2 separate regions of the Homo sapiens genome follow, and region 2 is linked to region 1. Evidence: promoter capture Hi-C in 16 types of primary human blood cells and fetal thymus (Javierre and others, 2016). All regions are on one chromosome and are shown on one strand. The core of a region is centred on a gene start or on the middle of the fragment in contact, and the rest is flanking DNA. Distances in the headings are between cores, read along the strand shown.

Region 1 (2,791 bases), core at 117-2,616:
AACAGACCATTATACCAAAAAGACATATGCAGTTGTATGTTCACGGCTGAGCTATTCACAATAGCAAACACACGGAATCAACCTAGGTGACCATCAATGGTGGACTGGAAAAAAAAAATGTGGATGTACAGGATGGAATACTATGCAGCCACAAAAAAGGAAGATATCATGTCCTTTACAGCAGCACAGATGGAGCTGGAGGCCATAATCCTAAACGAATTAGCACAAGAACAGAAAACTAAACACCACACGTTCTCACTTATAAGTGGGAGCTAAACATTGAGCACACTTACAAGTGGGAGTAGAAACATTGAGCGCACATGGACATAAACATGGGAACAGTCGGCCGGGTGCGGTGGCTCACGCCTGTAATCCTAGCACTTTGGGAGGCCAAGGCGGGCGGATCACGAGGTCAAGAGATCGAGACCATCCTGACTAACATGGTGAAACCCCGTCTCTACTAAAAATACAAAAAAATTAGCCGGGCGGGGTGGCGGGCGCCTGTAGTCCCAGCTACTCGGGAGGCTGAGGCAGAAGAATGGCATGAACCCAGGAGGCGGAGCTTGCAGTGAGCCGAATCGCGCCACTGCACTCCAGCCTGGGCGACAGAATGAGACTCCGTCTCAAAAAAAAAAAAAAAAGGTAACGGTAGACACTGTAGACTACTGGAAGGAGGGGAGAGATGGGGGATGTGGGTTGAAAAACTACCTACTGGGTTCTATGCTCAATACCTGGGTGCAATATACCCATGTGACTAACCTGCATGCGTATCCCCCATATCTAAAAGTTTATTAAAAAAAAAAACTCTCTATGATCAATAAAGGAGATAAAGTGTATCACTGTGGAAAGCGCAAACGTCAAGGACATGTTATAATTAAGCGGCTGCCCTTCAAGATTCCCGAGGCTCCCCATCCCTGCCAGTCCTGAACATCTCGATCAAGACCCTAGAGAACGCGTCCACAGGTGACCCGAGCCTCGGGAGGCGTCCTCTCTACAGCAACAGGCTCTAATTCTGGTCTCGCTCCCCTCACGCCATCCTAGGCTACAAGGGCCCCGGCGCTATAAGCGCGGCCTGGGAGGCCGGGTCGGTCAGGAGCGGAGAGTGGGGAGCTGGGGACATTGAGGGAGATGCGGGACAGGGAAGACGCGTGGGCCGGGGAGCAACGCCAGAGGCGGAAGACGCTCGTCCCGGGCCGCCACCACAGGTGCCGGGCGAAGCGCCGCGGAGCCCCCCAGAGGCCAGACCCCGGGTCGGTCCCGAGGGGGTCGTGCAGCACTAGGCGGTGCAGGGGGCAGGCGAGTGAGGGCCTCACCGTTTCTCCCCGGAGGCCGGCGCCGCCGCAGTCCCGCAGTTGCTAAGGAGAATGCTCTTCCGGGTCACGGGCGCGGCGTTCTAGAGAGCGACGGTGGCCGGGCGAGGCCGAGAGCGAAGCGCGCGGGGTGTGTGCGCGGTGCAGGAGCTCGTAGTCGGCGGTTCAGCTGCGACAAGGGCGAAATGGCCAGGCCAGGGGCCGCCGCGCCTTCTCCGGCCTCGCTCGCGGGGACAACTGGCTGCAACGGTTGGCTCCCAGTGGGCGGCCTCTGAGACGCCTTGTGCCAGGCGCCGGCTGGCTCCGGGCCCCTCTTCCACCGGAAGGAGCCTTCCAGACCCGGCTCCTGAACCTCCAGGCTCTGCTCCACTGGGCCAGGTCTTGCACGGCAGACGCCGCCGGCCCCTTTCCTGTTACAAGGCTTTGCTCATTCTTTCATTTACTCACTGCTCATTTATTGGACAACTGCTTGGGGCGAGGTGCAGTGCTGGCACTGGGGATACAGAGATGGACAACCCCCGCATGGTCCCTGCCCTCAGGATGTGAGGCTGATGGCAGAGCAAGCAGATGACGTCCTGCACGTGGGGATGATCGAAGGAAAGGAGACTAGGGGAGCCTGCCCAAGGGGCCCACCCAGACACGGGTGGGGAGCAGCTGATGTTGGAGACGTCGACCTAGTATAAAGGGTTGGGAAGAGGGTTTCAGGTGAGAGAGGAAGCGCAGCCGAGAAAGCCCCCGACAGTTCAGCCCGCCCAGGGAAGCGTGTTGAGAGGAAACAATCGTTAAGTACGGGACCTAGGAAACACCAATATTGTAGATGTGAGCAAAGGAAAAGGAAATCCAAAGAGCAGCCAGAACGTTCGGGAGAGCACAAGAGGAAAGAATGCCAGTGAGGGGATGGCCGCCATTCTCAAGCTATGGAGATCAAGTGTCCATTGGTGACCATAGAAAAATCAAACTTCCCTTTGGGAGGCCGAGGCGGGCGGATCACCTGAGGTCGGGAGTTCGAGACCAGCCTGATCAACATGGAGAAACCCCGTCCCTATTAAAAATAATAAATTAGCCAGACGTGGTGGCACATGCCTGTAATCCCAGCTACTCAGGAGGCTGAGGCTGGTGAATCGCTTTAACCCCGGAGGCGGAGGTTGCAGTGAGCCGAGATCGCACCATTGCACTCCAGAAAAAAAAAAAGAGAGAGGGAAGGAAAGACGGGAGGGCAGGGCAGGGTAGGGATCAAACTTCGGGAATACAATGTGGACAGATGCTTGAACCACCGTATGCTCCATATTGAAAAAGGAAAAGAGATGCATTAAATTGTGCCTATATTTCTCTTTTTTTTTTTTTTTTTTTTTTTGAGACGGACTATCGCTCTGTCGCCCAGGCTGGAGTGCAATGGTGCGATCTCGGCTCACTGCAACCTCCGCCTCCTGGGTTCAAGCAGTTCTCCTGCCTCAGTCCCGAGTAGCTGGGACTACAGGCGC
Region 2 (2,954 bases), core at 292-2,791, 180 kb before region 1:
CAAAATAACATTTAGGGTTATAAATATGGGTAAATTTTTTTTTAAATACATTTTCATTAGTATATTTGAGATGGTGGTTACCTCTGGGGAAAAAATTATGGTTTAGGATACAGGAGAACAGACAGGGAACTTGAACAGTATTGGTGATGTTATACTTCTTAATCTGGTTCATGAGTTCATGGGTTGGTTTTAGTATTAGGTTTCAAAAATTATAGAAGTGTTACATATATTCTTTTTCCTGTGAAATATGCTTTGTAATTAAAGTTGATAAATATTTTTAAAACAATATTTTAGTCAAATGTATACCAAAACCTTAATAGTGATCGTTTCCGGGGGTGAAACTCTGGGAAATTTTCATTTTCAATAGTACACATTTGAATAAATTTAACAGTAAATATTCAATATGTATGTATTTGGAAAAAATAAAATTTAGAAATGTTTGTTAATTTGATATTTCAATAATAGTTGTAAGAGAGAAAGTTTTCCTCCATAGAGTTATTTATAATGATCACCACTTCAATTTTTCTTCACTAGAGCTCCTCCATGAATACTGCTGCCATTCACAAAGAATGACATTCCAACTGAGTCCTACTGTAAAATTAATCTGAATGGCACTGCAACAATATTCCCAACTTCCTACATATGATAGGTGGGGGCCTTGGGAAACATATAAACATTCTATATAAATAAGCATCAGATCTACTATCCTGGGTGATATGCCTATTAAAAACGTACTGAGGAAAGGGACCAGCTACAGACAGAAAAAAATATAACAAGAAAGTCCTTCAAATTGGCCTCTTTGCCTTAAAGAAAACAGGAACATTAAATAGTCAAGATTAGTGTTCTCAGCCATTCATCATCTTTCCTCTACTAAATATTCTTATAAACTCCTAGTCTTACAACTAGACGATATTTAGAAGACAGTCATGCACTCTTGCAGTGATTACCACTATCGTATTACTACTCTTAAATACATGCTCTCATACATGTTGGTCCAATGTTGGAAACTCCATGCAAACAGATATAATGGCATCACAGCCCTGAGAATGTACAAGTGGGGAACAATCAAACATCAACTATACCGAGGGCCCAAACTTCCAACAATACAAAGTAAAAACGAAGTGTGGCAAATACACTTGTCTTTGGCTGTATATTTTATGTATTATTTTCTATAATCAGGAGAGGGAACGAGTTATTTTCGCTTCTTATGGCTCAGTACTATGACACAGCAGAAAGTAGCACTTAAGGAATAGGGACTTCAGGAACGGTGTTTTTATCAGTGAAAATAGATAAAAGCATGGAGAAAAGAAGTAAGAGTCAACAATACTGAGTTATTTAAGAAAAGGTCTTGAAATTTAAGAGTGAATTGGTGTTGATATGAAGAAAGCAAAGAGGAAGCTGAAAGGATTTAATGAGTATAAGAGGAGGTTGATGGTTATCTAAGGTCCTCTAACATCATAATATTTTCAAGAAGGTGCACTAGAAATTGCAGTTGAAGATGGCGACTTTGGAAGAAGTGCCAAAACTGCATGCAGTGCTCATCAAGGAAAGGAACAATTTGGTAACCTAAGCCTGGATCAGGATCATTCTCCTCCATTCCTTTAACTTTTGCTCTGCCTTGACCAGGATTTTCTCAGTGTTGAAGACACAGCTTTTTCCAAAGCTGATCCTTACAGGCCACCAGGTGGAGCCCAACAGTCACAAAAAAAGAGCCCCCTCCTCAGCCTGATTTGCTTTTTGCCTCCTAGCCGGCCAGGTCCATACCCCTTGAAAAGAACATACAAACTCTATAGATCTGGTAATGCGAGTCCATAGCATTATATAACTTGGTTTCTCCCTCAGAGCTATCTTTAAAGAACATGCTCTCAAAAAGGTGAAATATTCCTTTTGCAAAGGGAAAGATTGGATACAGTTATTTTTCAGTTTGCTAATCTTGGAGCCTATGCTTCAATGAAACAAACTAATTTCTTCTGTTTGTTTTTTCTATCAATCTAGTCATGGTTTAATTTTCCTACTAATTACAATTCAATGTATTTAATGTAATTTAATGACCACCTCTTCAATTCCTATCTACCCTGTAAGAAACTGAGTATCTATCAAAACTGAATGGAATGTAAAAGTATTTGCTTCCATGGGTCAATAAATATTGCTGACTGGCTAACAACCACCACAAGGTGAAAAGCTAGGAGACAAAGGTGATACCAGAACAGACCTCCACCCCCTACTTCCCATCTCTACCACAGTCCTCTAAGGTCAGAATTTCCCTTCCTCTGCTTTCACCTCACTCCGTCATCTGCTCCAATGGAACCTGCTGTCCTTCACACTCATTAAAGCCAGCAGCACTGTGACCCATTCTCTGTTTCTCATTTCCACAGCCTCCCATTAAGCCTAGGCAATCCCATGTTCAACCAAGAACTTCTCAGCCTGTAATGACCTATTCATTTTTCCTCCTCCTCCTCCACCCCTCAAAACCACCAGACTTTGCTTGATAAAATAATATAAATGTGTCAATTTGCTCTAGGTCGATTCATGTCACATATCTTCAGCTAGCCTTCAGTGTTGCCAAGAAACACTATTAAGTTCCTCACGGTAGCTGCTGTAAAACGTTTCCATTTTATTCAAGACTTACCCTTAAATAGTCAAGAAGAAACCATGACAAATCTGGGAGAAAGTGACCATGCTATCTCTACGCTCAAGACATCCCGGAAAGAGAAGCTGGAACTGTAAACTCTAGACTGAGGATACCAGATTTCCCAAAGGGCTGAGAAAATATAGGCATGAATTCCACTGCAAGAGTTTCTAAAGGGAAAGATGATTTAAGAGGTTGGGAAGCTCTTAAAACTGTAAATCTGATTATGTAATTGCAGATCATTCCAGCGAAGAAACCAATGTGGCTTTTTAATTATCCTGGACTAGAGTGTAGTACTAAATATTAAAGGTACTAAATATGTTGT

Evidence for each region. The method cuts DNA at HindIII sites, captures the fragments that hold promoters and counts their contacts. A CHiCAGO score of 5 or more calls a contact.
Region 2: a fragment that was not itself captured here is called in contact with the fragment with the promoter of DIS3L2 in region 1 in 2 of 17 cell types (fetal thymus and erythroblasts); the score reaches 5.8 in fetal thymus.

The regions. Positions count from the first base shown.
Region 1 is chr2:231,960,288-231,963,078 of GRCh38, reverse strand. DIS3L2 (DIS3 like 3'-5' exoribonuclease 2) reads right to left here and starts at 1,366. Exons shown (of 21, transcript NM_152383.5): 1 at 1,314-1,366. RefSeq lists a silencer at 1,109-1,268 and an enhancer at 1,399-1,488. The HindIII fragment of the contact is 14,565 bases long and covers 1-2,791 here.
Region 2 is chr2:232,140,981-232,143,934 of GRCh38, reverse strand. The region is part of intron 8 of DIS3L2 (DIS3 like 3'-5' exoribonuclease 2); the gene reads right to left. Among named protein-coding and RNA genes, the nearest start is that of MIR562, 30 kb to the left of the region's middle. The HindIII fragment of the contact is 8,971 bases long and covers 1-2,954 here.